Linked DNA regions of Homo sapiens: regions 1, 2, 4, 5, 6 and 7 are each linked to region 3. The links are contacts of gene promoters, found by promoter capture Hi-C in blood cells and fetal thymus (Javierre and others, 2016). All regions are on one chromosome and are shown on one strand. Each heading gives the region's core, a stretch centred on a gene start or on the middle of the fragment in contact. The rest is flanking DNA. Distances are from core to core; before and after follow the strand shown.

Region 1 (3,316 bases), core at 799-3,298, 180 kb after region 3:
CCACTGGAGGGTGGAAGCAATAACTTTCCAATCCCCCGAGCCTTCCAGCATTTTTTGGTGTTTGCCAAATATCATCACCTCCTACCTCTCACCAGCGCCTGGACTCAACCTTTCTAGAGCCAGCTCAAATGCCACCCCTTCAGACTTCCCAGCATTGCTGTGAGGAATCGTGGGCTTTTCTTTCCTGCTCCCAGTGTGACTTTGGTACCTTTATTTAGCATCTATATTGTCCTCCCTTGACTTAAAGCCAAGTTGTTAATTCTCCCCTTTCTTGAGTTCTTAGAGGGCAGGGATGCATTCCATTCATCTTTATCACCAACACCTAAGGTGACACCTGGCACATAGTCAGTGCTCGTTAAAGGTGTGCTGAACTTTGAAACGAAGGGTTGCCTGTTGGTGGTTGAAAACATTTTTTTTTCGAACCTTGTTAAGTTTGAAAAGTTCAATCCCCAGTGCCAACATGCATATAAATATAGGTGCTTTCATGCTCTGTTGATGGGAATGTGAACTGGTTCAACTTTTCTGGAGAGTCATTTGGTAAACATTTAGGAGAAGTCTTAGAATTTTCTATGCCTTTTGACTGAATTCTTTTTTTTTTCTTTTCTCCTAAGGAGTTAGTGAATGGCTTTTCATAAAGACATTGTATTTTTTCATAGCAATGTTTTTAAAAATTATAGCAAAAATGGGGCCAATATTAATATGAATTTGGATAAATAGTGGTTTATATGCAATAGAATGTCATGTAGCCATTACAATTGATGATATATTTGTTAATCAAATAAGTAAAGTGACAAAAACATTACAAAATAGGAAGCATAGTAGGATTTCAATTTTGAAGGAAAATAAGGCTCTATCCATGGAAAAATGCCTTGAAGGATATACGTCTAAGTGTTTCAACCCTTTTTCTCTAGGTGGTGGGATTTTAGGGGATTTTGACTTTCTTCTGTTCATTTCTCTGAGTTTTCTCAATTTTCTCCCATGTGTTACAACGAACATGCATTACATTTAGAACATAGAAAAACATTTTCCAGCATCTTGAGTTGATTCTCTAAGTAAATTCCTTGCTCCTTAAATTCTGAAAACTGTAGAGACCAGATCAACGTGTAGGATGTCAGAGGTGGAAAAGCTGTGGGAAGTCCTTTGGGCCAGAGTTTTGCAAAACTGGCTGTGCGTGAGAATCACACGTGGGGCTTTCAGAACTCTGGCTCTGCCCATACCCAGTGGCAATAAATCAAAGTCACCAGGGATGGCTGCAGGCGTCAGAGTGGTTTAAAGCTCCCAGGTGATTCTAATATGCAGCCTAGTTTGAGAACCCTGCTTTTGAGTTGTGCTGTCTAACAGTAGCCACTAGCCACACGTGGCTATTTAAATTATGCAACACTAAATAAAAAATTCAGTTCCTTAGTCAAAGTAGCCACTTTTTTCTTTCTTTTTTTTCTTTTTTTTTTCTTGAGACAGAGTGTCACTCTGTCACTCAGGCTGGAGTGCAATGGTGCGATCTTGGCTCACTGCAACCTCTGTCTCCCGGGTTCAAACAATTCTCCTGCCTCAGCCTCCCAAGTAGCTGGGACTACAGGCACCCGCCACCATGCTCGCAAAGTAGCCACATTTTAAGCACTCAGTAGTCACATGTGTGGTTAGTGGCACTATATTGGGCAGTGCAAGTTAAGATCTACCTCTCACATTTCAGGAGAGGGCTGGGCATGGTGGCTCATGCCTGCAGTCCCATCACTTTGGGAGGCTGAGGCAGGAGGGTTGCTTGAGCACAGGCATTTGAGACCAGCCTGAGCAACATGGTGAGACCCCTATCTCTACAAAAAAAAAAAAAAATTAGTCAGGCATGGTGGCACGCACCTGTAGTCCCAGCTACTTGGTAGGCTAGGGTGAGAGGATCGCTTGAGCTGGGGAGGTCAGGGCCGTAGTGAACCATGATCATGCCGCTTGCGCTTCAGCCTGGGCAACCAAGTGAGATTCTGTTTCAAAAAAATTTTTTTCTTTTTTTTTCAGGAAAGGCTTTTGCAGGTGGGTGCCCTCCTTCTAGCAGGCCTGAGGCTCAGGGAAGGGGCAGGCCTCTGTTCTTGCCTGTTTTAGGGCGGTGGAAAAGACCTCACTCGGCCGTCAGGAGAGTAATCTTGTGCCTAGAAAGTTCTTTCTGCTTTCTCGTGTCTACCCCATCCTCCTCCCTGAGCATGGTGAAGCTCAGTGCAGCATGTTTATTTTCAAAGGCTTGACAGGCCCAGGCCCTTCCTATCTGTTCAGCCTGGTCCAGGCCACCAGGCAAGCTGTTTACAAGGGATCCAAGTGCTCGGTGGAGAGCAGAACAGGCCGAGAGTGTTTTCCACGGCTGCCGAGAAAGATGAGCGAGTGGAGGCAGAATAACAAAAAGCCACTTCAAAAACACACCAGAAAAAGTCACAAAGCAGAGACAATCAGAGGTTTGAGACACACACACCCCCAAAACCCTGACAAGAGAGCGAAAACAAGTCATGAGGGAGCCTCTGATGGTTTCAAGACAGTCGCGGTTGCTGATTGAGAACAGGCCTGTCCCAGCAGTTCTCAGAGGAGTCGGGAGCTGCGGCTGTGGGGGGTCAGAAACTTCACCTGAGTTCTGAGAATTGTGGTGGGACAGTCCCTGAGGGCTCCGTCTCTCTGGGAAGATGGTGGGGGGCGGGTGAGAATGGCAGGCCCATGCTGGCTGGGTGAGAGTGTGAGGCTGTTCCAGCCTAGAGACTGGCCACCGGTCAGGAAGCAGAGTCCCACCTGGCCCCAGGCTTCTGGCACCTACTGCCTGAGAGCGTGAGGCCTCTATGGCCATAGTCCACCTGGGAATTCAAAGGCGTAAGGCCACCTGCATCTAGGAAGCTCCTTCTTTGGGATCTGAGCTGAGGACCCAACAGTGAAGAAGCCAAGCCAGAAGGGAAACGCTGGTGCTCCGCTCCACCTTGCCCCATTTTGCAGTGAAGTCCAGTGAAGAGAGCCCTGGGGGTGGAGCACTGGAGCTCAGGTCCCAGGCACTATCACTCCCTTGCTGTGTGACCTTGGGCAGGTCAGTTTACCCCTTTGGACTTTAGTTTCTTGACCTGCAAATTGGAGGGTTGGTCTAGATGAATGGCTTTCAACCCTGGCTGAATATTGGAATCACCTGGTGAGCTACAAAAATCAACATGATGCCAGTTGTTCTGGGATACACCCTGGGCATCAGCATTTTTAAAAGCTCTTCAGATGATCCCAGGCCAGGTGTGGTGGCTCACGCCTGTAATCCCAGCATTTTGGGAGGCTGAGGCGGGCGGATCATCTGAGGTCAGTTCGAGACCAG
Region 2 (3,330 bases), core at 370-2,869, 230 kb before region 3:
AAGGTAGTACATTATGATTGCACCTGTGAATAGGCACTGCGCCCTATCCTGGGCAACATAACAAGACTCTGTCTCTAAAAGAGATGCAGCATCTGCGACCCCACCCCGACCTGCTGGTCTTGTTCAAATCAGCATTTGGACAGGACCCCCCAGGGGACTCCTATGCCTACTAAAGTTTGGGAGGCACTAGCTGGGCATGGTGGTGTGCACCTGTAATCCCAGCTACTTGGGAGGCTGAGGCAGGAGAATCACTTGAACCGCGGAGGCGGAGGTTGCAGTGCCGAGATCAAGACACTGTGCTCCAGTCTGGGCAACAAGAGCGAAACTCCGTCTCAAAAAAAAAAAAAAAGTTTGGGAGGCACTGGTCTAGGACTCAGGTTCTGATCTGAGTGCTGCCCCTCACTCACCTATGGATTGTATTCTGATCCTTTAACCTCCCTGTGTATGTAAGGATGCCACATTTCACAGGCTAAAGACACAGGATGAGTGGGAAGGCAGAAAGCCAGCAATGTCACTGAAGCTTTGTTTTCCTCTACAGTAGGAAAAAATTTCAGCCTTCCCAGTGTCACAAGGACAACAGAGTAAGAGAAAAGCTGTGAAAGAAAGGGAGTAGAAAAAAAGTTATAAATGCAAAAGAAATAATCATTTGACAAATTCCAGATAAATATGGCATAAACTAGTGATAAGATGAGTTCCATTAGTCTAGAATGTGTCAGTGTGGGGTGAGGAGTTTTTGGATAGGACAGTGTCAGTGTGGGATGTGTGAGGGTGCAGGCGGCAGGGGCCGAGGATGAGCAGCTCTTTCTCCTGCAGAGAAGGTCCTTCTCCAGCCCACTGAGGACTGTGTTTTCACCGCACTGGGCATCAACAGCCACCTGTTTGCCTGTACTCGGGACAGCTATGAGGCTCTGGTAAGAACTTCCCAAGGCCTTGACTGGAATGGAGGGCTGAGGAGGGCTGTGAGCAATCCCTCACCCTGCCACCAGGAGCCCAGCCCCTATGCCCCTGCCTGCCACCAGGTGCCCCTCCCCGAGGAGATCCAGGTCTCCCCTGGAGACACAGAGATCCACCGAGTGGAGCCTGAGGACGTTGCCAACCACCTAACTGCCTTCCACTGGGAGCTGTTCCGATGTGTGCATGAGGTGGGGACCGAGGCTGGTGCTATGCTGGGGGGCTGGAGGGAGAAATGTGCCATTGGGAGACGGTGTTCGCAGCACAACGTCCTGGTTCCAAGGCTCACTTGCAGCAAGCCCTTGGGCAACGCATGGCCGTAACCTTTGTTCCCCCATCTGAAAAAAATCGCAAAGAGAGAGACCCCAGAGCACAGTGGCTCAGGGCCCAAGTGCTGTTTACACAGAACCTGACCCAGGATTTCTATTTTTAAAATATTCACTATTAAAGAAATAAAATAAGGCAGAGACAATAATGCCTAGCAGATGGTTGTCTTGAGGATGTCAGCCGTGAGCGAATGCCTGGCACCTAGTAAGTGCTCAGTAGCTGGTGAAATATTATTAATGCTGGTTGTTTTCTTTTTCCGCATCTTTGCCGCCTCCTGTCCTTTCTATTTTTCTATTTTCCACCCCTTCCGCCCCCGCCCTCCTGCCTTTCGCTCCTCATCGCCTTGCACTGCCATCTTCCCACCCACTCCCCTCACCCCCTGGCGCCCTGGCCGCCCCTCCGCTGCCGTGGGTGCAGCTGGAGTTCGTGGACTACGTGTTCCACGGGGAGCGCGGCCGCCGGGAGACGGCCAACTTGGAGCTGCTGCTGCAGCGCTGCAGCGAGGTCACGCACTGGGTGGCCACCGAAGTGCTGCTCTGCGAGGCCCCGGGCAAGCGCGCGCAGCTGCTCAAGAAGTTCATCAAGATCGCGGCCCTGTGAGTGCGGCCGTCGGCGGGATGGGGGGCCGGAGGCCGGAGGCCCGCGCCGCCGCCCGCCCCTGACCCCGCCTCCCACCCCCGCAGCTGCAAGCAGAACCAGGACCTGCTGTCTTTCTACGCCGTGGTCATGGGGCTGGACAACGCCGCTGTCAGCCGCCTTCGACTCACCTGGGAGGTGATGAGACCCCTCCCGTTCCTACCTGGGAATCTGGGCATCCCGGGCTCCCCGAAGTGCGTCCTCCCGGGACGGCCGCCGGCCTGGAGGGAGTCTTTGCGCCAGTTGGAGGGAGGCGCCCTCTTCTGGCATACGCAACCCCAGGGCGCACAGCTTGGCTAATGGACCCTGTCTTTGTGCAAATTAGTGAAAAGCCCGGATCCCGCCTGAGTCACGGCAGGCAGCCCTTGGCCAGGTCAGGTCGCAGACTTGGCTGTGGGAGTTGGGCTGATTTTCATCCACACTCAGTGGGGGCATCTTTATACAAAGCACCTGCATAAGACAGACCTGGCCTTCCCCAGAATAATGAATTCCTCTGGGCTGTTTCAAGCCTCTAGACTTAGCCAAGGCCTGACTTCATTTCCCCACCCACCAGCTTCCCAGCCCCCTACAAGCCATGCAGGCCCTTTTGCCCTCCAACAGGGAGAATTAATCCGAGGCTCCCATGTAACCCAAGGAGCTCCACTCTGATATCCCTTCTCCTTCCTTCAAACTCTGCAGAAGCTGCCAGGGAAATTCAAGAACTTGTTTCGCAAATTTGAGAACCTGACGGTGAGTGGGTTTGGCTCTTTCTTCTGCTCTTGGACTGAGAGCCCAGAAACCCTCTGTTCCCATAAACCCCCTTCCTCAAGCTTTCCTTTCAAGGTGTTTAGTGTATGGGACCCCCCACCCTCCTTACCATGCTGGAGGGTGAGGTTGGAAGGATTGCGCCCCTGTTTTTCTTGAAGGAAAGGGGGAGTAGTCAGGTCCCTCCCCACCACACCATTAGAAAGCCCCCAGCACCCCTATCTGATCAGGAATGTATACAAGGCAGGGGGTGAGGGAGGAAGCTGAGGACATCTTTGGGATGCATTGGCCAGTCTGTCCCTTGATCTCTCTCCTGTGGAATACTAGGACCCCTGCAGGAACCACAAAAGCTACCGAGAAGTGATCTCCAAAATGAAGCCCCCTGTGATTCCCTTCGTGCCTCTGATCCTCAAAGGTGAGAGAGTTACTCCCAAGCTGTGCCGCTTCCACCCATGCTTCCCTTCTCCTATGCCCTGCTTCTGACTTCCAGCTCCCTCTCGACTCAGCCCTGAGTACCCACCTGGAGAGGAGCCCCCCACCACAGACGGAGTGGGTTCTGGGGAAGAGCGGGGTCCTCGGGTGCAGTGGCCCCTTTCGAACTCCTCTCTTATCCTTTCCTCACATTGGATTCTCTCCACATCCCCTAGACCTGACTTTCCTGCACGAAGGGAG
Region 3 (3,328 bases), core at 807-3,306:
GTTGGATCTAGGTGGTGGGTATCCATAGGTTTTTCATTTTAGCATTCTGCTTTTGTGTACTTTTCTCAACTTCTGTTTAGGAAAAGCCAACTTCACCAGTAATCAAAATACATGCAGCTAACAATAGCAACGAGCTACATAACAAAAACTAAGCAAAAGACGTACGGATCAATTGTGACTCTAATACAAGACATTTTTGGGTCCCTTTGTTTGTTGTCCGCAGCATTAACTGAAAGAAAATAAAATATACATTTGTAAGAAATTAGTGTTTTAAGAAACATTCTGTAACTCTAAGTAAGATATAGAAAAAAAAGTTCCCAAACAGCACAGGAGTGGCATTAACAAGGTGTTAATTTAGCAATTTTTGTCCATAGTACTGTTTCTACGAGAAGCTCAACCTCCTGGGCTCCAGGAAACCAGCTCACCTTTATCAACTGATTGAAATGACAGGAGCCCTGGCTACAGCAGGTTTGGTAGAAATGATACTTTTTGTTTTTACTTTTATCTTTTTTAAATTTTTATTTGGAATGATACTTCTTATGAAAGATTTGACCAGATCTTTATATTAAAGGATTTACTCACCTAGAATCTCATCAAAGATTTTGTACAAACCAGGAACAAAAGTGACTTCCCTATAGTTAATGCCAACATCTTCATCGTAAACCCACATTTGCTAGAAATAAGGCAAAGAAATACTGTTATTTTTATTCTATATTCATTGTTCTGTTATCATGATTACCATAAAGTGTTCATATTAAGTATTACCATATTTAGGCCAGTTCCAGTGACACTCAGTACATGAGAGATACAGAAAGGTCACACTCAGTACATGAAAGGTACAGAAAGAAGAGTATCCATTTCAACTACTAGGTTAACTGCCTTTGATGAGCTTGATTTTACCTGGGTCACTAATTCCACAGAACCAATGTAGGTGTCTGGGCGGAGCAAAATATGTTCCAATTGTGTTTTCTTTTGATAGATTCTTTCAACAGACAGTCTTTTCTTAGCATCTTCATTTTTCTTTATTTTGTTGACTTGCATATTTTCATTTACAGGCTAGCAATTAAAAAAAAAGAGAGAAAGAAGGGAATTTTTAATCATAAGTTTACCCTAAACTAGGAACAAAATGCCTACCATAGTGAGATGTCAACATGCATTGCAATCTGTTAGTAGGCAGTGGTGGAGTTGCCAGTTTTGTACAAATAGGACAATTTAAATTCGCTGCGGCCAGGTCCCCAGGTGTCAGGTTAAACAGACACATATTATCTCACCAAGTGGGTCTGTCTGGAAACCTCTTTTCTTGAGCAACATGGTAGATGTCATCAATAAAATACACCCACTTCTTTCAGTTCCTGCATACATTATTTACCGAGTGCCTATTATTATAAATTATTTACGGTGTCCCGAGCACACGACACCGTAAATAATTCTAGTTCGGCAGCAGCAGTTTGGGCGGCTATCCGTTCAATCCCTTGGCCACCTGAGCGTTGTGAACTCAGGAAGGGGGCGCTTTTGTAAGCTGGCCAGCTGCTCCAGAGAAACACTGTGCTAGGCTCTGCCCTTTCCAAGATCGGGGACATTCAAGACCGTTTTCAAGCAGCGGGCAGGAGGGGAAAGCATCTGTACGCGCGACTCAATAACGTCGCACCCGGGCCGCTGTAACATGGATCCACTACGGGACCAACGGACTCCTGCCCCTAGAAACAGGGCAACAACGCACGACACCCTGGAAGCCGGGTCATACTTCACTACTAGCACCAGAAGGGGCTTCCGCCTCTCCACGATCACCCCGGAACCGGGAATGGAGAATATGGGCTCCCAAGCCGGTCGCCGGCCTGACCGCAGCCCCAGAGCTTCACCCGTCACGGGCGGCCAGAGAGATGCCCGGGCCGCGCGGAGGCTCCACCGCCAGTCCCCCCCGCGAGCCGTACCTGCAATGGTGACACTTCCATGGTGACGGTCGTGAAGGGGCTCAAGAACCCTGAAAGCGACTAAACAGGCAGGACCCCACGAGACCACCCCCGACCAAGCCGCTTCTCCACAGACGCGCGTCGGTTAGGAGAGCTCCACTTGAACCTTCCTTTAGCCCGCCCGAAGCAGACCAGCCAATCCCTGACTCGCTCTCACCGTCTCCGTCCAGAAGAACCAATCGTAGCTTGCCTTTTATATCCACCTATGAACGGCTGAGTTGGCCGGGGTTTGTTTGAATAAACCAATCAGGTTAGGGAGGCGGGACTAGAGAGGCTTCAAAAGGCACCACTCGGCGTCATAGCGGAGAGATTGACAGGGAATCTGGCCAATGAGAAGGGCTCACTTGTTTTCTCGTGCGGAAAGCTTGGAAGAGATGGGCTTTGGAAGCGGGAAGGGGTGGCCTGAGGCAAAAGTGTGCAGGAGAAAAGCAAAGGATGTTTATTCTCCAGGAACTGCCAATCTATTTAAGATCCCTGAAATCTAAAAACTGTCCTCTGTTCTGACGTTGTTAGCGAGGGGAATGGGAGCCTTAGCTTCGTTTTCCTGAGGAAACTGAGTGCCGGCTTTCTGGACAGGCAGCCTGGCTGCTTGGTTGAAGCGAACAGATTCTGGCATCTGCCTCAACCCCGCCCCCTTTACCCTCGAATTCATTTTTCAAAGAAATAAAAGTAGGCTGTGTGCGGTGGCTGGAGTCTGTATTCGCAGCACATTGGGAGGCCGAGGCGGGAGGATCGCTGGAGCCTAGGAGTTGGAGACCAGCCTGGGCAACATAGCGAGACCCCGTCTCTACCCAAAAAGGAAAAAAAATAGCCAGGCGAGGCATCGCACACCTGTAACTCCAGCTCCGGAGGCTGAGGAGGGAGGATCGCTTGAGCCCCGGGGATCGGAGATCGAGGCGCCTTGAACCGTGATTGCTCCACTGCACTCCAGCCTGAGTGACAGAGCGAGGCCACCTCAAGAGATAAATACATAAATAAATAAATAATAAAAATAATTAAAATAAAAGTGCCACAGTTGTGGTTTGGGGGTTCCATATAGTGGAAGGATGTAGAAAGGCTTTGCAAAATGGAGGGCAGCATTCAGGTCCCCAGTAGAGCAGCGCTGGACTGCAACTGGTAAATCGAAAGGGATAACTTGTGGTGGTAGCCTCTTGAGCTGAGGGTGGGCTCAGCCGTCCGGGGCTGAAACCTTTTCCGCAGCCAGCTGGCCAGATACCCTCCGACTGGCTACTTTTGCTCACCTCCGTGAACCCTGCAGTCCAGAACAGCTGTTCCAATTTGACAAGGAAATGCCAAGACTGAAGCTTTTTTGTTTGCTTGTTTTTTTGTTGCTTTTTTTTTTTTTGAGATGGAATCTC
Region 4 (3,270 bases), core at 223-2,722, 180 kb before region 3:
ATTACAGGTGTGAGCCACTGCACCTGCCCTTATTTATTTATTTATTATTATTTTTTTGAGACAGAATCTCACTCTGTCGTCCAGGCTGGAGTGCAGTGGCACAATCTCGGCTCACTGCAAACCTCCGCCTCCCGGGTTCAAGCGATTCTCCTGCCTCAGCCTCCCGAGTAGCTGGGATTATAGGCGCTTGCCATCAGTGTGGCTAATTTTTGTATTTTTAGTAGAGATGGGGTTTCACCACCTTGGTCAGGCTGGTCTGAAACTCCTGACCTCATGATCCGCCCGCCTTGGCCTCCCAAAGTGCTGGGATTACAGACGTGAGCCACCGTGCCCGGCCATTTATTTTTTAAGAGATGGGGTTTTGCTGTGGGGCTCAGGCTGGATTCAAACTCCTGGGCTTAAGTTATCCTCCTACCTCCAAGTAGCTGGGACTACAGGCTCATGCCACTGTGTCTGGCTTCTGTTTATTTTATTTTATTTATTTATTTATTTATTTATTTATTTATTTATTTATTTGAGACGGAGTCTCGCTCTGTCGCCCAGGCTGGAATGCAGTGGTGCGATCTCGGCTCACTGCAAGCTCCGCCTCCCAGGTTCACGCCATTCTCCTGCCTCAGCCTCCCAAGTAGCTGGGACCACAGGCGCCCGCCACCACGCCCGGCTAATTTTTTGTATTTTTAGTAGAGACGGGGTTTCACTGTGTTAGCCAGGATGGTCTCGATCTCCTGACCTCGTGATCCGCCCCCTTCAGCCTCCCAAAGTGCTGGGATTACAGGCGTGATCCACTGCGCCCAGCCTTGGCTTCTGTTTATTTTTAAGAATGTGACACTAAGAAGCTCATCAAGTGGTGGACCCTACTATAGGGTATTGGGATTACAGGCACCCTGGCAGGCTGGTAAAAGGACTCCTCCAGTCCCCTGCCTAGAGAGTATAAGCCAGTGGCAGGTGTTTGAGTGTAAGTCTGGCTGCCAATGTTTTTGGAGCCAAGTGAGAGAAAGGAGCTGGGGAGGTAGGAGAGGTCTCACCGTTGACTCATTAGGCTTTTCACTTGATACCCTTATTTCCGTCACTGCCCTTAGCTGTGACTAGTTCCTTTGGACTCTTTGGTTCAGCTTTTCTTTTTTTTTTTTTTTTTTTTTGAGACGGAGTCTCACTCTGTCATCTCTAGGCTGGAGTGCAGTGGCGCTATCTTGGCCCACTGCAACCTCTGCCACCCGGCTTCAAAGGATTCTCCTGCCTCAGCCTCCCAAGTAGCTGGGATTACAAGTGCCTGCCACCGTGCCCGGCTAATGTTTGTATTTTTAATAGAGGTGGGGTTTTACCATCTTGGCCAGGCTGGTCTTGAACTCCTGACCTCAGGTGTTCCACCCACCTTGGCCTCCCAAAGTGCTGGGATTACAGGCATGAGCCACCGAGCCTGGCCTGGTTTAACTTTTCTAATTTGCCTGGCAGCATGGGGAGGGATGGAGGAATCCATTTGTTATACAGACTTTTCTTTTTTTTTTTAAGATGGAGTCTTGCTCTGTTGCCCGGGCTGGAGTGCAGTGGTGCAATCTCAGCTCACTGCAACCTCCACCTCCCAGGTTCAAGCAATTCTGCTGCCTCAGCCTCCCAAGTCGCTGGCAACTACAGGCATGAGCCACCACAATCGGCTAATTTTTTTGTATGTTTAGTAGAGACGGGGTTTCACCAGGTTGACCAGGCTGGTCTCGAACCCTTGAGCTCAAGTAATCCACCTGCCTCGGCCTCCCAAACTTCTGGGATTACAGGTGTGAGCCACCGTGCCAGTCCCAGACTTTCAACCAGTCCTCCTGTTTAGCCCCTTCTACACTATCACCCCATCTTCCCGAGGTACCAGGTGCCTCTAATTTCTGAGACGTTTTGATTCAGAAGTTCATCTGTGGTGGGAATCTGCTTGCTTCTTCCCACTGCAGTGTTTTGTTTTTTTTTTTTACTTTTGTGAAGTTATTTATCACTAGTGCATTTGCTTTTTACCTTCCAAAACTTTGTTGACATCTCTCTCTCTGCTGTCTCCTTTCCCAGTTTTTTTGCTTGTTGTTTGGTTTATGTCTTTATAAAAAAAAATCCTGGCCAGGCACGGTATCTCACGCCTGTAATCCCGGCATTTTGGGAGGCTGAGGCAGGCAGATCACGAGGTCAGGAGATGGAGACCATCCTGGCTAACACAGTGAAACCCCGTCTCTACTAAAAATACAAAAAAATTAGCTGGGCGTGGTGGCAGGCGCCTGTAGTACCAGCTACTCGGGAGGCTGAGGCAGGAGAATGACATGAACCCGAGAGGTGGAGCTTGCAGTGAGCCGAGATAGCGCCACTGCACTCCAGCCTGGGCAACAGAATGAGACTCCGTCTCAAAAAAAAAAAAAAAAAATCCTTTTGCTGTAATTTTAATGGTGTTTTATGATGGAACATTGATTAATGCATGCAATATATTATGTTTAACATGTTATTCAACATATTCATCAGCTTTTCCTTGCCAATATCCATTCAGACACCACAGTGTCTTTACAGTTGATTACTAATACTCCTTTAGCATAGTGTTTTCTAGACTTCCCTAACACCAAGAATCACTTAAAGTGCTTGTTGGATATACAGATTACCAGATCATTCTCCTGGAAAACTTCTGATTTTAGTTGGTTTAGATTAGCGCCCAGGGATCTTTTTTTAAAGTGTGTTTGTTTTTAAACAAATGCCCTAAATATGTCTTATCTTCAGGCAAGTTTGGAAACCCTGCTTTAGAAGGATTCTTTTTAAACCATTAATGCCATCTTACATCTCCATGGCAAACTCCTTAGCCTTCCCCTAATACTGCTTTTGTATTCAGACTCTGTTTTAGCCTGTCTAGCTTTGGTCTGGATTTCTGAATTAGCATGTGTGTCTTTCCTCTGATTAACTCCCCTCTTTAGTATTAAATGTTGGCTGATGGTAATAACTTTGGGCTTGTGTGACTTCATTTTTTTTAGTCAGCGTCTCTAAACCCGCTCCTGGGATGTACAGGGGAGGAAATACTAGTTATGAACATTGAGCTGCTCTGCACCAATTTACTAAGTCCAGGAATCAGTGTTTTTGGTGAAATGGAAAATTGACTCAGGCTTTGAAAACAGATGTCCTAATCTGCCTTGGGTTTATGCAGCGTCATTTTTGGAGATGTTGAAGCACTGTGATTTGAAGTTTGTTTTTAACTTTACAATCAAAAGGACACAATTCTCCCTTTTGTATTATAGATTCCTACGCCTAGAAAAGAAAAAGGGT
Region 5 (3,631 bases), core at 1,109-3,608, 240 kb after region 3:
GGAAACTTGGAAAGCCTTGTACTGATTTTCACATATACCTTATTTTAGAGCCTTTATTTGTCATATGCCCACAAATATTGGCAATCTGTGTGTACATGCCGGCCATAACTTGTAAACATAGAACCAAATTCTGCCCTGTGGACAAACTTTCCTTTGATTTCATGTGTTGATAATTTGAGTAACGTGTATGCATATTGTTTAACTAAAATTTAATTTTGGCTCATGTATCATAATACATTTCCAATGGAAACTTTCAAATTAATGTAAGCATTTTTTGACTTCAGAGATTTTTTATTTTTGAGACAGGGTCTCACTCTGTTGCCTAAAGCTGGAGTGCAGTGGTGCAATCTAGGCTCACTGCAGTCTTGACCTCCTGGGTTCAGGCAATTCTCCCACCTCAGCTTCCTGAGTAGCTCAGACTACAGGTGCACACTACCACACTGGGTTAAGTTTTTGATTTTTTTTTTTTTTGGTAAAGACGAGGGCTCACTGTGTTGCCCAGGCTGGTCTCAAACTCCTGGGCTCAAGCGATCCTCCTGCCTCAGCCTCCCTAAGTGTTGAGATTACAGGTGTGAGCCACCATGCCCGGCCAACAGATTTTTAAAAAATTCTAAAAACGTAAGAAAACAAATTGAAGGACAAACTGAACTTTGCCAATACAAAGATCTCTAGCAAATGAATAAGAAATATGCTTATGTGCAGTATTAGTTGTATATTTCTGCATAACAAATTATCCCAAAATTTAGTGGCTCAAAATAATAATCACTTATTATCTTTAGAGAACTATTTTTTTTTTTTTTTGAGACACAGGGTCTCACTCTGTCACCCAGGCTGGAGTTCGGTGGCATGATCTTGGCTCACTGTATCTTCCACCTCCTGGGCTCAAACAATTCTTCCACTTCAGCATCCTGAATAGTTGGGACTACTGGTGTGTCACCATATTCGGTTAATTTAAAATTTTTTAATAGAGACGAGGCCTCACTGTATTGCCCAGGCTGGGCTTGAACTCCTGAGCTCTAGCAATCCTTCTGCCTAGGCCTCTCAAAGTGTTGGGATTATAGGTGTGAGCCACTGTGCCTGGCATAGAGAACATTTTTATACTTTAGACACTGTGCTTGGCATAGAGAACATTTTTTGTACTTTAAAAGCTATCATGACAGAACAGTTCAAATTGGGTGACTCACTGGGAAAGAATAACTGTTCTGGAAGCAATTGAAAAATTAAAAATAGTATCTTTACCTGTTGTGTTTTGAACTATTAATCATTGTCCGCTGTAATTTCCCCCACACATTCTTTAAAGACAATTTTCTTCCAAATAGTACTGTATATCTGAGCAGTGCTTTAACAAATATTTTTGCTTGTATATTATTTCAAACAACTGTAAGGTAGGTAGAGTAGGAATTATTATCCAGCTTTACCTTTTCCTTTGTTTTCAAGTGTAAAACTTGAGGCCTAGGAACTTAAAGTGGCCCCTCCTGGTTACATGGTTAGTGACAGAGCCAGGGTTAGGATCCTACAATTGTTAGTAACTGGAATTACTCTTTATTTTTGTATTTTTTTATGGAAGCATGCATTTGAAACATTTCAGAGAGATTAAAGAATATTAATTTCTACTCATGTGTAAAGCAAGGATAATATTATTCATTTTGTAGGATTGTTGTAAGGAAGGATTAGGGATTATTAGGGATAAACACAGTGCCTAGAGCTGAGTAAGTGCTTTGCAAATGGTGCTGCCATTATTAAACTTTTTCCAGAACTATGGGATTATGTGATTATTTTGATTTTTAAAAAACTAGAATAAAATATTGATATACCATTCTTAACTCTTTTGTAAAACAAGTTAAAAACCATTATCTATCTACTGTGATTGCAGTTTTCTTTATTCCCCAAATGAACTAACCATACTGGAGTAATTAGTTCTTTGTTTCACTTAACCATGCAGAGATATTTTTGAACTAAAAGGACTGCGTTCAAACTCACATACAATGCAGCTTTAGCATTCATATTTCAATTTTTTCAATTTTTAATTTTTATTTATTTTTACTTTTTAGAGAGATGGGGTCTTGCTATATTGCCCAGGCTGGCCTTGAACTCCTGGGCTCAAGCAGTCCTCCCACGTTGGCCTCCCAAAGTGCTGGGATTACAGGCATGAGCCACCGTGCCTGGCCATGTTTCATTTTTTTAATTGTAGTGGAATCATTACCTTGGTAAATTCATATCCCAATTTAAAATGCCCCAAAGCAAATAAAGCTTCATTATAAATTCAAATACTGTATTTTAAAATCTACATGTTATACACCCAATAGATGCATACTGGAATTGCTACAACAAGCAGTTACATTCATGACGACCAGTACTAAGTTTTTTTTAACACTGCAATAGATTATGCTAGATATATTGCTTTATTATGATCACTGTTGCTTAGTACAGTAACTTTAGTACAATAGCTTATATGATTGCATTTTTAAAGCTTTAATAAAGTTAGTAGCATTTAGCAATATCAAATGAAACATTTTTTATGTATAGGATGTATTTTAGGTCAGATGCTTATGCAAGAATAAGCACTTAACATGCTGTTATATCCTTGACAAAACAAAATCATCCCTTTTCACTAAATAGAATAAACCAGACTAAAAGGAATCTGAAGTAATTGAAAGAAAATTAAAAATTTTATATCCCTGTATTATGTTAAAGATTATTTAACATAATATTTTCCTGGTTAAAACATACATTTTTCTGGTTGAAATATATATATACATATATATAAATTATATATATGTATATATATAATAAGTATATATGGAGAGAGAGATAGAGGAGAAGAGAGAGGAGAGAGAGAGAGAAATATTTTAAAGGCTGTACTAAAATGCTAACGTAGCTATAGCCCTTAGATGATACTTTAGCTGGGAAAAAGTATGGTGAGTTGTACTCAGCTACTTTTTCTGCTTAGAAAAGAATTAAGAACTTATAAATTTCTAATGTCTTAAAACAGGTATTTATTAAGATCTTAAATATACCTGTATTAAACAAATTAGGTTATTTTAAAAACTTTGCAACAATACCTCACTTATTCACAAATATATTTTCTACCCATATTTATTACAATTTGAACGATTTAAAAACAAATCCTCTAAATACTCTTAGCTTAGATAACAATACCGTTATCTTAGTTCACATAAATGATTGCAAGAAATATTTATAATACTTCATATAGTATCTTATCTACGGCTTATAGCAAACAATCTAATCACATTTAGCTTTACAGTTGGAAAAACTGGGATGGTGGGTAACTGTTCTGATAACTATAGTAACTACCTTTTCAATTTGCTTTTCATGTTTTGTTTGCGCAGTTGGCCTTCTGATTTTTTTTCTTTTTTTGGTGGGGGATACAACCTTTAAAGTTCCTTGAGTAAAGTAAATCTTCCGGAAATCAGATACTTATTACAAAAAAAACCTTTTAGATATATGTAGATTAACTTAATTGTACTTATCTCAAATTAGCCCTGGGGTGTGTTCTATAGTTTGCTCAGAATTTCTCATGGAAAATAACTCATTTTTCTCAGTATACAAATGATTTATCTCAAAAAGAAGAATCCTCATTAGGTGAATAGTGAGTCCCCCTTTAAAAACT
Region 6 (3,350 bases), core at 479-2,978, 210 kb before region 3:
CTCACAGTTCCACAGGACGTACATGAGGCACGGCTGGGGAGGCCTCAGGAAACTTACAATTATGGCAGAAAGGGAAAGGGGAAGCAAGTAATCTTCACATGAGCAGGAAAGAGAGAGCAGAAGGGGAGGTGACACACACTTTTATTTATTTATTTATTTATTTATTTTGAGACTCACTCTGTCGCCCAGGCTGGAGTACAGTGACATGATCTCAGCTCACTGCAATCTCTGCCTTCCGGGTTCAAGCGATTCTCCTGCCTCAGCCTCCTGAGTAGCTGGGATTACAGGCATGCATCACCATGCCTGGCTAATTTTTGTATTTTTGGTAGAGAAAAGATTTCACCATGTTGGCCAGGTTGGTCTTGAACCCCTGACCTCAGGTGATCCACCCGCGTTGGCCTCCCAAATGCTGGGATTACAGGCGTGAGCCATGTGCCTGGCCAGTGCCACACACTTTTAAACAACCAGATCTCATGAGAACTCATTCATTATCACGGAATCAGCAAGGGGGAAATCTGCTCCCATGATCCAGTCACCTCCTGCCAGGTCCCTCCTAACATTGGAAATTACAATTTGACATGAGATTTGGGTGGGGACACAAAGTCAAACCATAGCAAGGAATGAAGTACTGATATATACTACAACATGGATGAACCTTGAAAAAACTGTGCTAAAAAACCAGACACAAAAGGCCTCATATTGTATGATTCCATTTATATGAAATGTCCAGCATAGACAAATCCATAGAGACAGAAAGTAGATAGTTTCTGGTTGCCATGGGCTGGGGTGAGAGCAGAATGGGGAGAGGCTACTAATGGGTATGGAGTTTCTTTTTGGGTGATGAAAATGTTTTGGAATTAGATAGTGGTGATGGCTGTACAACATTGTAAATATACTATATACTCACTTGGATGCTTTAAAGTGGTTACAATGGTGAGTTTTATGTTATGTGAATTTTATTTGCTTGGCTTCTAGACTCATCACACCAGTCTCTGCCTCCATCATTACAAGGCATTCTCCTCTGTGTGTCTCTCTGTGTCCTCTCTTCTTCTTTCTTTCTTTTTTTTTTGAGATGGAGTCTCACTCTTGTCACCCAGGCTGGAGTGCAGTGGCATGATCTTGGCTCACTGCCACCTCCGCTTCCCAGGTTCAAGTGATTATACTGCCTCAGCCTCCTGAATAGCTGGGATTACAGAGGCCCGCCACGACGCCCGGCTAATTTTTTGTATTTTTAGTAGAGATGGGGTTTCACTGTGGTCTCGATCTCCTGACCTCGTGATCCGCCCGCCTCGGCCTCCCAAACTGCTGGGACTACAGGCGTGAGCCACTGCGCCCAGCCTCTCTTTTCTTTTCTTTCTTTTTTTTTTTTTTTTGAGACAGAGTCTTCCTGTGTCACCCAGGCTGGAGTGCGGTGTCACGATCTCAGCTCACTGCAGCCTCTGCCTCTGCATCCTGGACTCAAGTGATCCTCCCACCTCAACTTACTGAGTAGCTGGGACCACAGGCGCGCACCACCAAGCACAGCTAATTTTTCTGGATTTTTAGTAGAGACGGGGTTTTTATCGTGTTGCCCAGGCTCGTCTCAAACTCTTGGCCTCAAGCTATCTGCCTGCCTCGGTCGGCCACACAAAGTGCTGGAATTACAGGTGTGAGCCACCACGCTTGGCCAATTGAATGTTTTTAGATTTTATATAAATATTATCATACTGGATGTGGTGTTCAGCAACTCCCCATCCACAACACTCTGCCTGTGAGGCTCATCCAGGTCAGCATATATTACTGGTTTGTTTGGTTTTGCTGTTCTGTGTTTCTCTTTGATTCTCAACCCAGTGCATCTGGCTTTCTCTGTCATCACTCACATAATCTGCCTGGGTCAAGAGCACCGATGACTCCCATGTTACCAAATCCAAGAACACTTATTTTCCTATTGCTGGCATTTGATATTTCTGACCATTCTTCCTTCTGGAACACTTATCGCTGCTTCCAGGATGCTACGTTCTCAGGATTTCCCTGTCTTCTCTTTCTCAGTCTTCCTCACTGGCCTCTCCCTCAGCCTGGTCCTTGTATGTGGAGTGCCCCAGCTCCCTCTTGAGCCCTTTTTTTTTCCTTCCATAATCCTGGGCTTAGATTTCATCGTCATATTTGTGTTTGGGAATCTACTGCTGCATAACAAACAGTTCCAAATTTAGTAGCTTAAAAATGACAACTTTGTTTTATTTTATTTTACTTTTTATTTTTTTTTGAGACAGAGTCTTGCTCTGTCGCCCAGGCTGGAGTGCGGTGGCATGATCTTGGCTCACTGCAACCTCCGCCTCCTGGGTTCAAGTGATTCTTGTGCCTCAGTCTCCCAAATAGTTGGGATTACAGGCATGAGCCACCACGCCCAGCTAATTTTTGTATTTTTAGTAGAGACAGGGTTTCACTATGTTGCCCAGGCTGGTTTTGAACTCCTGACCTCAGGTGATCTACCTGCCTCAGCGTCCCAAAGTGCTAGGATTACAGGTGTGAGCCACTGCACCCAGCCTAAAAACAGCAACCATTTTATAACTTCTCATGATCTTCCGGGCTGATGGGAGCTTAGCTGGATAGTTCTTCTGGTCTCACTTGAGGTCTCTCTTGCTGCAGTCAGAAGGCCACTGGAGGGCCAGGTGCAGTGGCTTACGCCTGTAATCCCAGCACTTTGGGAGGCCGAGGCGGGCGGATCACCTGAGGTCAGGAGTTTGAGACCAGCCTGGCCAGTGTGGCAAAACCCCATCTCTACTAAGCATACAAAAATTAGTCGGGCATGGTGGCTGGTGCCTGTAATCCCAGCTTCTCAGGAGGCTGAGGCAGAAGAATCGCTTGAACTCGGGAGGCGGAGATGGCAGTGGGCCGAGATCGTGCCACTGCACTCCAGCCTGACAAAGCGAGACTCAGTCTCAAAAAAAAAAAAAAAAAAAAAAAAAAAAGCCACTGGAGCTAGCTAGGATGCTAGCTCACATGTCCTGAGCCCTGGTGGGAACAAAGGGACCACAAGGATGGCTGGACTTTTCTCTCCATGTCCAGGCTTCTCCCTCCAGGTGGTCTCTGCAGCAGAGTACCTGATTTCTCACATGGGAGATGACTCCCAAAAGCAAAAAAGTAGAAGCTGTCAAGTCTTTTTACAATTTAGTCCTGAACCTGGTACAGCTTCAATTCTGCTGCATTCCACTGGTTAAGAGCAGTCACAGGCCAGCCCCACATTCAATAAATACCAGGACTCCTGGTTCACTGGGAGCCATCTTTGGAAATTAGCTACCACAGTTTATGAGTCCCAAATTCCTAGGATTACTCTCCTCAGTTTCAGACCCAAATATCCAGTGATCTAAGGA
Region 7 (3,273 bases), core at 774-3,273, 160 kb after region 3:
GTTCATAAGAGATGCCAAAAAGCACTGTGCTTGTTTATATCCGGGGCATCTTTGGGCCACTTGGTCTTTAGTCTTCCAAAGACTGATTGCCTTATGGAAGTAGAGACTGTTCAACATGGAATACTTAATAAGCAGGTGCTTAATAAACATTTGATTGATTGATGAAGGGACTTTAAACTTTTCCAAAGATGCTACCGCTCCCTTTACCCCTGTCTGGAGAATGCCTTTCTTCCTTACTTTCAAATTTCCTTTGTTGGACACTGACTGCAGATCCTGGTATCGGCAGTAGCTTGAGTATCATGGCAGAGCAGAGAACATCTTGCTCCTAAGGAATGGACTCTAGGGTACCTGTTTTCACCTGCAGTGTTGTCATTTATTCATTCAACAAATATTTAGTGAACACTATGTGCCAGGCGTGGTGCTGGACTCTACAAATACAAAGATGAACACACATGGTCCCTGGCCTTGCCAAGTTTACATAAAGCACTGTGGGTGTATTACTGTGCTCCGGATGCTGTACCAAAATACCACAGGCTGAATGGCTTAAGGTCCAGCAGGGTTGGCTTCTGGTGAGGGCCCTCTTCCTGGTTTGCAGATGGCCACCTTCTCCTTCTTGCTATGCCCTCACATAGCCTTTCCTTGGTGCATGTGTGAGGGGAGAGGGAGGGTGTTCTCTGGGGTCTCTTCTTATAAGAACACATCTTATTGGATCAGAACCCCACCTTTATGCCCTCATTTAACACTAATTATATCCTTAGAGGTCCTATCTCCAACTGCAGCCATATTGGGGGTTAGGGCTTTAACATATGCATTTAGGGGGGACATAAACATTCAGTTCATAAAAATGAGGCACATGAACAAATGAAAAAGCAATTACCTGTAAGCAGTAAAAGCATAAAAACAAGCAGGAGGTAGTATACACTAAATTTAGGATGGGGAGGGAAGGGGATGCAAAGAGAGAGAGGTATGCAGGGGCTTAAACTGGTATTTGCTATATCTACTGGTAATGATTTGTCTTCATTCAAGACCTACAAAAGTCTTCATTGTATTATTCTTTACACCTTTAAGTATTAATTATTTCACAATATTTAAAAAATAATAGAAGACACTATTATTGTGCAATGTAGTAAGAGGTAACTAGGGGGGCATGCTCAACATGCTGTAGGAGCACATAGAAGGGGAATCAGGAAGGGTATAAAAAAGATGGCATCTACAGAGGAGTAGAAGGGGCCCAGGTGCAGGGGGAAGGCAGTGGTGAGTGGTCAGTAGAAGGACCAAGGCCAGGCTGGGAGTGGTGGTCCATGCCTGTAATCCCAGCATTCTGGGAGGCCAAGGTGGGAGGACTGCTTGAGCCCAGGAGTTTGAGTGTAGTCTGGGCAACATGGTGAAACCTCATCTCTCCAAAAAAATCCAAAAATTAGCCGGGTGTGGTGGCGTAGGCCTGTAGTGCCCTCTACTTGGAAGGCTGAGAGGCAGGAGGATTGCTTGAGCCTGGGAAGTCAAGACTGCAGTGAGCTGTGATCAAGCCACTGCACTCCAGCCTGGGCAACAGAGCAAGGCCCTGTCTCAAAAAAAAAAAAAAAAAAAAAAAAATTACCAAGGCCAGAAGTCTTGCCGGGCTGACCTCAGCAAGCTTACTTTCTCTGAGTTGCTTAATTTGGGAATTCAGAAGACAGGGTGAGCTATACTGTTTAACTTGGCTTTTGGGGTGATGTGGCCTGTGGGGCCAATGTCTGGCCTTTTTTGCCTGCTCAGTGGTGTGGCTGTGTTTGGCACGTGAATTATGTTTGACTTTGGCCATGTCTTTGAAGGCAATCTCTCTTTGCTGCTGTGGCATCTAGAACAGGTGGTGTTTACAGCGTTTCCCAGAATTGCCTGCTTCCTAGGACTTTACCTATCCATTTGTCCCTCTATTCATTCATCCAGCATCCATTCACTGAGCACCTACTCTGCCAGGTATTAGGCCAGGTGCTAGGGCTTGAAGGCCCATCAACCTAGTCCTGGGCCTTGAGGAGCTTGACAAGCAATGGAAAATAGCATGGGCATCCACATCTCCAAGCACATCCTTATACCTCATCTCATTTAGCCCTCGGGCTGCCCTGTGTGGCAGGTTTCCATTCTATGATTGAGGAAGCTGAGACTTGAAAGGAAAGTGACTTGATATTTGACTCTAAGCTAAGGGGCTTTTCCCACTATGCCAGGCTGCCTTTACTGATGTTGGGCATGGTCGGAAGAGCTCAGACCACGGCTGCCCCCTCTCTTCCTGGGAAAGACACCCTCAGACAGGTCTTTACATCCCATCCTGTTTTACGAAGGTTTCTGAGAATGAGCAGGGAGAAGGACCTACAAGTAACCTTTATAGTCATTCAGTCCAACCACCTCACTGATGACTTGGTTACCCAGAGGATAAAGAAAAGCTTAGCTTACCAGAAACTCCAGCCCCTGTTATTATGAAAAAGAACAGGACAAGTCTTGAGACCCCTAGAGGAGGCCTCTGATCTGGAGAGAATCGACAGAGGAGCCAGACCCAGAGTCCCCTGGAGGGAGCCAGGTCTGCAGAAGCTCAGAAACTCAGTCCTGCCTTTCTTGCATATGGAGTCCATGGTCATAGTAGCAGTGTCCTGGCTCTACCCAGAGTGTCCAATGGCTTCCTGTCCCTCTGGACTTGTCATTTAGTGGGCAAAGTCCAAGATCACACCTCTCACTCCTGCCCCCACCTCTTGCCCCTGTTTTATCTCACTTGGGAATAATCTGTTCCCATGTGAAGCCAACGAAAATGAGCCTCCACCAGTGTGGGGTAACCCAACAGGCAGATTTGGTATGGACACAGGGCCCCAGCCAGATGAAGACATCCCAAAGTTGAGAAGAGTTCAGTAATCAGAAAATCTAAAAAGATGCTCTTTTAATTTCAGCACACATGTACATTTTGTGTTGTCTGGTGAGTATTAGGAATTATATTTGGAGAGAGACTGCAATCTTTATAGGGTTCAGGGCCTTTTAAGGTCTTACTCGGACCTTGGACAACCAAGAGGGAAAGGGCCAACAGGTGTGAGGAAAATAAGTTGTGAGGCTGCAGGGAGGAAGAGGATGGCTCACCAGGATGAAGAAAAGGGAAGGAGAGGAGCTCTCAGTGGTGCAATTGGTTAGCGTGTGGCACTTACATGAAAAGGGAAGGAGGGCTTGGCACAGGCTAGCGGGAAGCCTCAGGTCACCCTGACACCTGTTGCCATGGCCCGGCGGCGGTTTCCTGACTTGTCAGGACGTGTGCACAGA

Evidence for each region. The method cuts DNA at HindIII sites, captures the fragments that hold promoters and counts their contacts. A CHiCAGO score of 5 or more calls a contact.
Region 1: a contact is called between a fragment that was not itself captured here and the fragment with the promoter of TOP2A in region 3, in 1 of 17 cell types (naive CD4 T cells). The highest score is 5.3, in naive CD4 T cells.
Region 2: a contact is called between a fragment that was not itself captured here and the fragment with the promoter of TOP2A in region 3, in 2 of 17 cell types (neutrophils and M2 macrophages). The highest score is 8.0, in neutrophils.
Region 4: a fragment that was not itself captured here is called in contact with the fragment with the promoter of TOP2A in region 3 in 1 of 17 cell types (neutrophils); the score reaches 7.9 in neutrophils.
Region 5: a contact is called between a fragment that was not itself captured here and the fragment with the promoter of TOP2A in region 3, in 1 of 17 cell types (total CD8 T cells). The highest score is 5.9, in total CD8 T cells.
Region 6: a contact is called between a fragment that was not itself captured here and the fragment with the promoter of TOP2A in region 3, in 3 of 17 cell types (neutrophils, M2 macrophages and monocytes). The highest score is 8.0, in neutrophils.
Region 7: a fragment that was not itself captured here is called in contact with the fragment with the promoter of TOP2A in region 3 in 2 of 17 cell types (endothelial precursors and total CD8 T cells); the score reaches 8.0 in endothelial precursors.

What each region holds. Positions count from the first base shown.
Region 1 is chr17:40,600,548-40,603,863 of GRCh38, forward strand. No RefSeq gene overlaps it. Among named protein-coding and RNA genes, the nearest start is that of CCR7, 37 kb to the left of the region's middle. RefSeq lists an enhancer at 2,190-2,449. The HindIII fragment of the contact is 4,168 bases long and covers 1-3,316 here.
Region 2 is chr17:40,189,621-40,192,950 of GRCh38, forward strand. RAPGEFL1 (Rap guanine nucleotide exchange factor like 1) reads left to right here. Exons shown (of 15, transcript NM_016339.6): 7 at 814-911; 8 at 1,020-1,142; 9 at 1,696-1,874; 10 at 1,962-2,052; 11 at 2,593-2,643; 12 at 2,986-3,073; 13 at 3,306-3,330. Among named protein-coding and RNA genes, the nearest start is that of MIR6867, 2.3 kb to the right of the region's middle. RefSeq lists a silencer at 1,862-1,921 and an enhancer at 2,042-2,121. The HindIII fragment of the contact is 2,203 bases long and covers 519-2,721 here.
Region 3 is chr17:40,415,840-40,419,167 of GRCh38, forward strand. It overlaps TOP2A (DNA topoisomerase II alpha), which reads right to left and starts at 2,057. Exons shown (of 35, transcript NM_001067.4): 1 at 1,932-2,057; 2 at 901-1,056; 3 at 583-673; 4 at 166-229. The coding sequence starts at 1,952. RefSeq lists enhancers at 1,716-2,241, 1,963-2,052. The HindIII fragment of the contact is 7,280 bases long and covers 1-2,332 here.
Region 4 is chr17:40,238,574-40,241,843 of GRCh38, forward strand. The region is part of intron 1 of WIPF2 (WAS/WASL interacting protein family member 2); the gene reads left to right. Among named protein-coding and RNA genes, the nearest start is that of WIPF2, 21 kb to the left of the region's middle. The HindIII fragment of the contact is 5,946 bases long and covers 1-3,270 here.
Region 5 is chr17:40,652,282-40,655,912 of GRCh38, forward strand. KRT222 (keratin 222) reads right to left here. Exons shown (of 6, transcript NM_152349.3): 6 at 2,384-3,631. Among named protein-coding and RNA genes, the nearest start is that of SMARCE1, 6.3 kb to the left of the region's middle. The HindIII fragment of the contact is 220 bases long and covers 2,249-2,468 here.
Region 6 is chr17:40,206,320-40,209,669 of GRCh38, forward strand. No RefSeq gene overlaps it. Among named protein-coding and RNA genes, the nearest start is that of WIPF2, 11 kb to the right of the region's middle. The HindIII fragment of the contact is 6,806 bases long and covers 1-3,350 here.
Region 7 is chr17:40,579,231-40,582,503 of GRCh38, forward strand. No RefSeq gene overlaps it. Among named protein-coding and RNA genes, the nearest start is that of CCR7, 15 kb to the left of the region's middle. RefSeq lists enhancers at 2,994-3,133, 3,154-3,273 and a silencer at 3,162-3,273. The HindIII fragment of the contact is 784 bases long and covers 1,632-2,415 here.